Linked DNA regions of Homo sapiens: all the other regions are linked to region 3. Evidence: promoter capture Hi-C in human tissues and cell types (Jung and others, 2019). All regions are on one chromosome and are shown on one strand. The core of a region is centred on a gene start or on the middle of the fragment in contact, and the rest is flanking DNA. Distances in the headings are between cores, read along the strand shown. Region 1 overlaps NME5 (NME/NM23 family member 5). Region 2 has its middle 15 kb from the start of FAM13B. Region 3 holds the start of WNT8A (Wnt family member 8A). Region 4 overlaps FAM13B (family with sequence similarity 13 member B).

Region 1 (2,700 bases), core at 152-2,651, 36 kb after region 3:
ATCATTAAAAAGGTTCTTTTTAAAGAACTTTTCTCTATTTTTTTATATGTTTTTTTGAGATGGAGTCTTACTCTGTTGCCTGGGCTGGAGTGCAATGATGCAATCTCAGATCACTGCAACCTCCTCCTGGGTTCATGTGATTCTCCCACCTCAGCCTTCCGAGTAGCTGGGACTACAGGTCCGCATCACCACACCCTGCTAATTTTTGTATTTTTATTTATTTTTATTTTTTGAGACAGAGTCTCGCTTTGTTGCCCAGGCTGGAATGCAGTGGCACAATCTCAGCTCACTGCAACCTCCAACTCCTGAGTTCAAGTGATTCTCCTGCCTCAGCCTCCTAAGTAGACAGGAGTGTGCCACCATGCCTGGCTAATTTTTGTACGTTGAGTAGAGGCAGGGTTTCACCATGTCGGCCAGGCTGGTCTCAAACTCCTGATCTAAGGTAATCCTCCTGTCTCGGCCTCCCAAAGTGCTAGGATTGCGGGCATGAGCCACCATGCTCGGCCCTAATTTCTGTATTTTTAGTAGAGATGGGGTTTCACCATGTTGGCCAGGCTGGTCTTGAACTCCTAACGTCAAATAATCTGCCTGCCTCAGCCTGCCAAAGTGCTGAGATTACAGGCATGAGCCACTGCAACCAGCCTGTTTTCTTTTTCTTTTCTTTTCTTTATTTTTTTTTTTTTGAGACAGAGTTTCACTCTTGTCACCCAGGCTGGAGTGCAGCAGCACAATCTCAGTTCACTGCAACCCCGTCTCCCAGGTTGAAGCAATTCTCCTGCCTCAGCCTCCTGAGTAGAACCAGCCTCAGTTTTCAGTTGGGATGTTTCTCTTATTATTTAGACATAGGAGTTCTTTATATATTCTAGTTACAAGTTCTTTATATTATTTGGTGATATTTTTTCCCAGTCTGTTGCCTACCTATCTTTTCATATTTTTAAAAATTTAACTTCTATTTTTTTTTTTGACACAGGGTCTTGCTCCGTTGCCCAGTCTGGAGTGTGGTGGTGTGAGCACAGCTCACTGCAGCCTCGAACTCCTGGGCTGAAGCATCCTCTGGCTTCAGCCTTCCAAGTAGCTGGGCCTGCAAGTGTGTGCCACCACACCCAGCTTTTTTTTTCTTTAAGTGTTTAGAGACAGGGTGTCACTCACGCTGGTCTCAAACTCCTGGCCTCAAGCAATCCTCCCACCTCAGCCTCCTGAATAGCTGGATTTACAGGTGCAAACCACTGCTCCCAGCTCTTTTTTTTTTTTTTTTTTTTTTGAGACAGAGTCTTTCTCTGTCGCCAGGCTGGAGTGCAGTGCCGCGATCTTGGCTCACTGCAAGCTCCGCCTCCTGGGTTCACGCCATTCTCCTGCCTCAGCCTTCTGAGTAGCTGGGACTACAGGTGCCCGCCACTAATTAGTCCGGCTAATTTTTTTGTATTTTTTAGTAGAGACGGGGTTTCACCATGTTAGCCAGGATGGTCTTGATATCCTGACCTTGTGAGCCGCCTGCCTCGGCCTCCCAAAGTGCTGGGATTACAGGCATGAGCCACCGCGCCCAGCCTCTTTTCACATTCTTAATGATGTCCTTTGAAGCACAAAAGCTTTTAATTTGATTTAGTCCAATTTATCAATATTTTCTTTTATGGATCTTGCTTTTGATGTCATTTTAAGAAGTCTTTGTCCAACTCCAGTTACAAAGATTTTCTTGTTTTCTTTTAGATGTTTTTACATTGAAGTCTGTGATCCATTTTGAGTTAATTTTTGTGTATGCTATGAAACAAGGGTCTAAGTTCTTTTTGTTTTTATGTGACTATCATGCTGTCCTAGCACCATATACAGACTTTCCTCAATTTACATGGGTTACATCCCAATAAACCCATCATAAGTTGAAAGTATCAGTAAGTCAAAAACACATTTAATACACCTAGCCTATTGAACATCATAGCATAGCATAGCCTACTTTAAATGTGCTCAGAACACTTACATTAGCCTACAGTTGGGCAAAATCATCTAACACAAAGCAAATTTTATATAAATAACATTTTCTATATAATATACATATATTATGAGCTGGGCACAGTGGTTCACACTTGTAGTCCTAGCTCCTTGAGAGGCTGAGGCAGTAGGATTACCTGAAGCCATGAGTTTGAGACCATCTGGGCAACAAAGCAAGACTCTGTCTCTTAAAAAAAAAAGATATATATATATATCATTTTTGGGGGAGGATCTCTTGAGGCCAGGAGTTCAATACCAGCCTGGGCAATATGGCGAGACTGCCTTTCTACAACAAAAAAATTCAAAAAGTAGCCAGGCATGGTGGTCTATGCCTCTAGTCTCAGCTACTCAGGAGGCTAAGGTGGGAGAATGCTTGAGCCCAGGAGGTCAGGCTGTAGTGGGCACCACTGCACTTCAGCCTGGGTGACAGAGAGACACCCTGTCTCAAAAAAAAAGGAAACCAAAATAGAATGGTTGTATGGATACTCGCCATTAATGTACACAGCTGAAAGCACCATAGTAAAGTCAAAAAACTGTAACTTGAACCATGGTAAGTTGGGGACTGTATTGGCAAGACCATCCTTTTCTCACTGAATTGTCTAGGCACCTTTGTTGAAAGTGAATTGACCATAAGTGTAAAAGTTTACTTCTAGATCCTCAATTCTGTTCCAATAATCTATATGTGTATCTTTATATCACTGTCATACCGTCTTATAATTG
Region 2 (2,700 bases), core at 17-2,516, 36 kb before region 3:
ACTCCTGACCTTATGATCCACCTGCCTCGGCCTCCCAAAGGGCTGGGATTACAGGCGTGAGCCACCGTGCCCAGCCACTTCTTTTCACTTACTCAGAAAGCAACTCAAGCTTGACAGATATGGAGTGAGCTATCTGTAGAGAAGAAACAAAAGAACAATCATTTTTAGTTGGGGGGCAGAACAAGCATGTGGCAAAGTACTACATAAAGATGGCTAGTGTAGGCAGAATAATGATGTCCCAAAGATGTCCACATTCAGACCGGGCGCGGTGGCTCATACCTGTAATCTCAGCACTTTGGGAGGCCGAGGCGGGTGGATCATGAGGTCGGGATATCAAGACAATCCTGACTAACAGGGTGAAACCCCACCTCTACTAAAAAAAAAAAAAATTAGTAGGGCGTGGTAGCACACGCCTGTAGTCCCAGCTACTCAGGAGGCTGAGGCAGGAGAATTGCTTGAACCCAGGAGGCAGAGGTTGCAGTGAGCCGAGATCACACCACTGCACTCCAGCCTGGTGACAGAGCAAGACTCCATCTCAAAAAAAAAAAAATGAAGATGTCCACATTCTATTCCCTAGAACCTGTGAATATGTTACGGCACATAACAAATGGGAATAAAGGTTATAGGCAGAATTAAAGTTGCTCAACTGACCCAGAGATGGGGAAATTATCCCGGATTATCTGGGTGGGCCCAATGTAATCACACAGGCCTTTATAAATGGAAGAGGAAGGCAGAAGACACTGGAGTGACTGGGTATGAGAATAACTCAATCTGCCATTGCTGGCTTTGAAAGTGAATGGAGGCCATGAACCAGGGAATGTGGACCACCTCTAGAAGCTAGGAAAGGCAAGCAAACAGATTCTTTCCTATAGACCCCTAGATATTCCTCTAGGGGCCTGACTTTAGCCCAGTGAGACCCACGTCAGACTGCTGACCTACAGAACTATAAAATAATACATTTGTATTGTGTTTTTAAAAAATTTTAAATAACCTTTTTATTTTAGAATAACTTTAGGTTTACAGAAAAGTTGCAAAAGATAGTACAGAGAGTTCCAAGTTTCCCCTAATGCTAGTACCTAATGCCTTTTAAAATAGAAAGAAAGAAAAAAGAAAGAAAGAAATCCAAAAAAACAAAAAACAAAACTCTAGAGCAGTTTTAGGTTTACAGAAAAATAAAGCAGAAAGTACGATTTCCCATATACCCACTGCCCCACACATACAAATCTGTGTGTTTGAGCCACTAAGTTTGTGGTAATTTGTTATAGCAATTAAAAACAAAACAAAACACTAATACAACGCCAAATGGCACTTTGGAGTACAGGGAAAGAGAGGTAGGTAATTTAGAGATGCATATATACATGGTAAAACACTAAAGAAAAATAATAATCCAAAATTCAATATAATTGTTACTTATAGTGGAGGGTACAGAACTTATAGGTGTGACCCCGCACCCCTAGGACACAGTACACTAGCCTATAAGAGGCCTCTATGTGAACTAGAAAAAAGAATTGTTTTCTGAGCAGATAATTAGAAAAATGACATATCCACTGGGTAGGAACCAGCCTATGGACCCTCAGCCTAGCACCAGGTGGTGTCTTTGTACCCAAGGAAAAAGCTCCATTTTTTAGGAGGCAAATCCCTCTCCCCTTGGTAAGGCACCTTTTTGCAGTGGCCAAATTGTACCAGCATGCTGGCCGACCCCTAGGACCTTCAGAGCTTTTGTAACATTCTAATTCTCAAGCCAAGTAGAAGGTATATAGGGTTTGTTTTTCATAATTATTTTGCAAATTGTATATATGCATTACATGCTCTTTCTCATATATTCACAATATTTTTAAAAGTATTCAGCAATGTGATGAAATATAGCATCATTGTACCCCATGCAGACCTTTGCCACTACCTCAATGTCAGTCTCCTTCTGACTACAATCTAAAAATCAGAGAATTCTGAAGGACATTAGAGTGATACATTTCTTTTTTTTTTTTTTTTTTTTTAAGGCGAAGTCACTCCTTTGCTCAGGCTGGAGTGCAGTGGTGAGATCTTGGCTCACTGCAACCTCCTCCTCCCAGGTTCAAGTGATTCTCGTGCCTCAGCCACCCGACTAGCTGGAGTTACAGGCGTGCGCCACCGCGCCCAGCTAATTTTTGTATTTTTAGTAGAGACGGGATTTTACCACATTGGCCAGGCTGGTCTCGAACTCCTGGCCTTAAGCAATCTGCCTGCCTGGGCCTCCCAAAGTGCTGGGATTACAGGCGTGAGCCACTGTGCCTGGCTTCAGAGTGATACATTTCTTGTTTTGTTTTTGTTTTTGTTTTTTCCTCAAGATAGAGTTTTGCGCTGTTGTTGCCCAGGCTGGAATACAATGGCGTGATCTCGGCTCACTACAACCTCTGCCTCCCGGGTTCAAGCGATTCTCCTGCCTCAGCCTCCTGAGTAGCTGGGACTACAGGCGTGTGCTACCACGCCCTACTAATTTTTTTTTTTTAGTAGAGGTGGGGTTTCACCCTGTTGGTCAGGCTGGTCTTGAACTGCTGACCTCAGATGATCCACCCACCTCTTCCTCCCAAAGTGCTGGGATGACAGGCGTGAGCCACCGTGCCCGGCCTAGAGTGATACATTTCTTAACTCCATGAAACCTCTTTTCATTTGGAGTAAGTTACCAAGCAAAACAGGATTTTCCATCTGTCAGCCTCCATTCCT
Region 3 (2,700 bases), core at 52-2,551:
CTGGGCATGGTGGCGCACACCTGTAATCCCAGCTACTCCGGAGGCTGAGGCAGGAGAATTGCTCGATCCCAGGAAGTGGAGGTTGCAGTGAGCCGAGATCATGCCACTGCACTCCAGCCTGGCGACAGAGTGAGACTCCATCTCAAAATAAATAAATAAATAAATAAATAAATAAATAAATAAATAAATAAAATAAAATAAAAGACAGATTCCCACCTAAGGAGCTGAAGTCCTAGTAACAAAGTAGTATCAGAAAGAAAGGCATCAGGGCCACGCCCAGTGGCTCATGCCTATAATCCCAGCATTTTGGGAGGCCAAGGTGGGCAGATCACTTGAGCCCAGGAGTTCAAGACCAGGCTGGCCAACTGGCGAAACCCCTTCTCTACTAAAAATACAAAATTTAGCTGGGTGTGGTGGCTGGCACCTGTAGTCTCAGATACTTGGGAGGCTGAGGTAGGAGAATCACTTGAACCCAGGAGGCAGAGGTTGTAGTGAGCTGAGATTGCACCACTGCACTCCAGCCTGGGCGACAGAGCGAGAGACTCTGTCTCAAAAAAAAAAAAAAAAGAGAAAGGCATCAGTCTTCCCAAATATAACCCTGGGTGGCCCTAAGGTTGGTTCTCAGATATATAAAAAATCAACTAACTGGAGTTGTAACCCTCAGATATAAAAGGATAGATTTGCTAGGAATTAAGGAAATTTCCCAGCAGTTGCTAGAATGTGGTGGAAGGGACTGTTGCAGAGATGGACTCTGAAGTGTTCCTGCTCCATAGTCCCACAGCTCCATCACCTCACAGCCTTGAAGGAAGTGGTAGGGATGGCGCACTCACTGGTTTAGGTAAATGAGTAGGAAGCAGCCCCAGATGGAGTTGCTTTATGATTATTAACACCTTGGGGAGGATGGCAGGACAGAGAGTGGGCTCTCACTGACAGATGAGGACACTGTAGCTCCAAGAATAGGTGACCTGCCTTCAGGGTTAAGGACCCAGCCTGCTCTGGCCTACATGATTCTGAGAAATGGGCCAAAGAAGCAGGAAGAGACAAAATTGACATATAGAAGAAAGAAATCTCACGTATAGGAGAAAAGCAGCCTCCTTCTCATTCTGGGAGGGAAGAAGGGCTGGAGGGGCTGGGCAGGGCGGGGCTTTTGGCGAAAACTGAGTCCCTCCTCCCAGATCCCCCACTGGGCCGGTGGCTCCTGCAGCCCTGCCAGTTAGGAACAAATGAGAAGAGCTGCTGATTTCCTCCCTTGGACATTCAGAATTTTCTCACATAAATACTGAGGAAGACCCTGCCCTCTCCTCACTTCTCTGGACTTGGCCCTGAGCTGGACCTGGTCCACTGGGGTAGGCAGGGCGATGGGGAACCTGTTTATGCTCTGGGCAGCTCTGGGCATATGCTGTGCTGCATTCAGTGCCTCTGCCTGGTAAGTCCTTTCCCAACCCTCACTCCTTGCCAAGGAGGCCCCCATTGTCTCATCCCCATTCACCTCTGCCTCACTTTTTCTCTTTTTGGTAGGTCAGTGAACAATTTCCTGATAACAGGTCCCAAGGTAGGATGATCTCCAGCTTCTGTTTTTACCCACTGAGGGCCCTAAGGGGACTCTTCTGGAGAAAAGAGGGGCGGGGACAGTGCCAGAGCCCCTCACCCAGAGGAACCCATGGTTGATTCTTAATGGAGAGCTGGCCCATCTGAGTCCTGCCTGCTCCCCCAACCACAGATGACCCATACCGGGCAGAAGCTCACAGCCCTTTTCCCTTTGCCAGGCCTATCTGACCTACACGACTAGTGTGGCCTTGGGTGCCCAGAGTGGCATCGAGGAGTGCAAGTTCCAGTTTGCTTGGGAACGCTGGAACTGCCCTGAAAATGCTCTTCAGCTCTCCACCCACAACAGGCTGAGAAGTGGTAAGTTTGTGTGGGACTCACCTGTACAAGGGGTATATATGTGAATGGAGTGGGGCTTGCAGTATGTGTATATGTGTGACATGTATTGCACAGTGAAATAAAAATGCTGCCAGTGACCTGCTGACCTGCCATTTCCTTGCTGTGTGGCCTTGAGTAAATTACCTACCCTCTCTCAGCCCCAGATTTGTCATTTGGGTCAGTAAGGCCAGTTCTGTTTAGTTCATCAGAAGTATCCTATGGGTTGAATGAGGTGGGTATGAGGTGTCTCTATGTATGAGATAAATGTAGGAAATTACTCTTTTTTTTTTTTCTTTTTTTGAGACGGAGTCTCACTCTGTTGCCCAGGCTGGAGTGCAATGGCGCAATCTCGGCTTACCGCAACTTCCGCCTCCGGAGTTCAAGTGATTCTCCTGCCTCAGCCTCCCGAGTAGCTGGGATTACAGGCATGCAACATGCCTGGCTAATTTTTTGTATTTTTAGTAGAGATGGGGTTTCACCATGTTGGCCAGGCTGGTCTCAAACTCCTGACCTCAGGTGATCCACCCACCTCAGCCTCCAAAAGTGCTGGGATTACAGGCGTAAGCCACCGTGCCCAGCGGAAATTACTCTATTTTTTAAATGCATGCCTATATTTGTGCGTTTGTACACACTGATCTTGCACTGAGTTGCATGAAATAAAAATGGGGAAAGGGCTGTGTGTTTGCAGCTCCTGAGGAAGTTTCACATGGCTAACTGCCATAAAATCTCAACAGAAAAGCTGAGACGTCACATTGAGTTGTGCCTCAGGTGGGGTGT
Region 4 (2,700 bases), core at 129-2,628, 60 kb before region 3:
AATGCCTTGTTAATGAAATCAAGAAGCTATTTTCTTTTTTTTTTTTTTCGAGACAGGGTCTCACTCTGTCACCCAGGCTGGAGTGCAGTGGTGCAATTATGGCTCACTGCAGCCTCAAACTCCTGGACCCAAGCAATCCCCTGCCTCAGCCTCCCAAATTGCTGGGCCTACATGTACACACCACCATACCCAGCTGTATTTTTAGTAGAGAGGAAGTCTCATGTTGCCCAGGTTGGTCTCAGACTCCTGGCCTCAAGCAATCCCTCCCACCTTGCTGGGATTACAGGTGTGAGCCACTGCTCCCAGTCAGGAGCCTATTATCTCATCTCATGACCTCTACTACCTGCAACCTCTAACTAGACAACCTGAAAGCATATTTTTCTAAGGTGAGGCTGGGTAGGAATCTATGAATTCATCAGTAAAAATTTACCCTTGATACTAGGAAAACAATCGGAGGCATCAACCTTTCTGACGACAAGTTTCTCTTTCTCCTGAGGATGTTGACGGATATAGCAGCAACAAACATTAAATGAGCAGTTATGATATGCCAGGCAGTTCCATGCACTTTACATGTATTAAGGTATTCTTTAACCCTTAATTAGACATTGCAAGGCTCACCAATTTACCCACAGTCCACCCAGATAATAAGGGTCAGAGGCAGAATATGAAACCAGAGAATGTGATTCTCAAAGTCCTTGAGCTCTTAATCACTATACTATTTTTTCATGTAAATTATCACAATTTATAGTATGATAGAATGTCACATTCTGGCGCTCAAACTGGCCATAGTCTTTTTCTTTTTTTGAGACAGGCTGGAGTACAGTGGCATATGCGATCACAGCTCACTGCAGCCTCAACCTCCCCAGACCTACGTGATCCTCCTACCTCAGCCTCTTGAGTAGCTAGGACTACAGGCGTGGGCCACCACACCCGGCTAATTTTTGTAAAAATGAGGTTTCACCACATTGCCCAGGCTGGTCTTGAACTCCTGGGCTCAGGCAATCCACCCACTTCAGCCTCCCAAGGTCCTGGGATTACAGGCATGATCCACCATGCCCGGCCTCAAAGTCTTATATACATTTTAGGTCATCACTTACTTCTAGCTTGCGAACAGGTACTTCCAGAGGGCAGGCCTATGGTCCAAACCCCAGGAGCCAATCTTTCACTTGGGACTTGTATCTAGAGCACATTGCTGAGAACTCTCAGACTGGAGAGTGGCCCAAGGTAACATTTCTGCAAACTGCAAAGTAGTTGACATTATTTAGTCCTGTTTCCTACCCCTTTTCAGAGCTTAAATCACATAAATATTCCCTTCACATCTGTGGTGGGTTGAATAGTGTCCCCCCCAAACCTCATGTCCACCAAGAACCTCATAATGTGACTTTATCTGGAAATAAGGTCTTTGCAGGTGTAATTAGTTAAGGATCTCAAGAGGAAATCATCCTAGATTTAGGGCAGGCCCTAAATCCAATGACTCATGCCCTTATAAGAAGAGGACAAGATACACAGAGACACACAGAGAGAAAGAAGAGCATGTGAAGACAGGGAGAAACTGGAGTTATGCTGCCAGAAGCCAAGAAATGCCAGGAACTACCAGAAGCTGGAAGAGGCAAAGAAAGATTCTCCCCTAGAATCTGCCCTGTGGACACTTCCTTTTGGGCTTCTACCCTCCTCAACTGTGAGAAAAAACTTCCTACTATTTTAGAGCCACCTAGTTTGTAGCAATTTGTCATGAAAGTCCTAGAAAATGAATGCAACACCTAAACTACAATATTACATTCTAAAAAAAAAAAAGAAAAAAAAGGAAAACAGCAGCAGGCACCGTACAAAAATATACCAAAAAGATCTAATAAAATGTCCTAGCAGATAGAATCAATAAAATGTCGAGAAAGCAGTTCAATAAAAGGATTGACACAAGAGAATACAATGTGTGGACTTTCAAAATAACCAAGTATTTCCAAAAGCATACTGTTATAAATCTAAACAGCAAAATTTATACACACACACACACACACAGAGAGAGAGAGAGAGAGAGAGAAAGAGAGAGAGAGAGAGTTTTTTGAGTTTGTTTTTTTTGTTTGTTTTTTTTTTGAGACAGAGTCTTACTCTGTCACCCAGGCTAGAGTGCAGTGGCATGATCTCAGCTCACTGCAACCTCTGTCTCCTGGGCTCAAGCGATTCTCGTGCCTCAGCCTCCTGAGTAGTAGAGATCATAGGCACGTGCCACCATGCACGGCTAATTTTTTTGTATTTTTTGGTAGAGATGGAGTTTCACCACGTTGGCCAGGCTGGTATCGAACTCCTGACCTCAGGTGATCTGCACACCTCGGCATTACAGGCATGAGCCACCACTCCCAGCCCCAAACAGCAAAATTATTTTAAATACAAGTGACAGTTGCCTAGCATGGTGTTATTGACAAGGAATAGGAAATTACATTGAATTTTACATCATATACCTCACCATGAGATAACAGTGATTACAAACAAAGCCATATATATATATATATATATATGTATTTTTTTTTTTTTTTTTTTTGAGTTGAGGTCTCACCCTGTTGCCCAGGCTGGAGTACAGTGGCCCAATCATGCAGCCTCAAACTCCTGGGCTCAAGCAAACCTCCCACCTCAGCCTCCTAAATCACTGGGATTACAGGCATGAGTCACTACTCCCGGCTCAGAAACAATGCAATTAAACACCAA

What was found. The method cuts DNA at HindIII sites, captures the fragments that hold promoters and counts their contacts. A contact is called where the count stands out against the background at its distance.
Region 1: a contact is called between a fragment that was not itself captured here and the fragment with the promoter of WNT8A in region 3, in 3 of the 25 tissues and cell types used here (bladder, ovary and spleen).
Region 2: a contact is called between a fragment that was not itself captured here and the fragment with the promoter of WNT8A in region 3, in 1 of the 25 tissues and cell types used here (pancreas).
Region 4: a contact is called between a fragment that was not itself captured here and the fragment with the promoter of WNT8A in region 3, in 1 of the 25 tissues and cell types used here (hippocampus).

The regions. Positions count from the first base shown.
Region 1 is chr5:138,118,992-138,121,691 of GRCh38, forward strand. The region is part of intron 4 of NME5 (NME/NM23 family member 5); the gene reads right to left. Among named protein-coding and RNA genes, the nearest start is that of NME5, 19 kb to the right of the region's middle. The HindIII fragment of the contact is 8,485 bases long and covers 1-2,700 here.
Region 2 is chr5:138,046,968-138,049,667 of GRCh38, forward strand. It overlaps a transcript of FAM13B not described here. Among named protein-coding and RNA genes, the nearest start is that of FAM13B, 15 kb to the left of the region's middle. The HindIII fragment of the contact is 5,141 bases long and covers 1-2,700 here.
Region 3 is chr5:138,082,732-138,085,431 of GRCh38, forward strand. It overlaps WNT8A (Wnt family member 8A), which reads left to right and starts at 1,302. Exons shown (of 5, transcript NM_001300939.2): 1 at 1,302-1,552; 2 at 1,767-1,905. The coding sequence starts at 1,397. The HindIII fragment of the contact is 19,757 bases long and covers 1-2,700 here.
Region 4 is chr5:138,022,798-138,025,497 of GRCh38, forward strand. The region is part of intron 1 of FAM13B (family with sequence similarity 13 member B); the gene reads right to left. Among named protein-coding and RNA genes, the nearest start is that of FAM13B-AS1, 8.6 kb to the right of the region's middle. The HindIII fragment of the contact is 7,268 bases long and covers 1-2,700 here.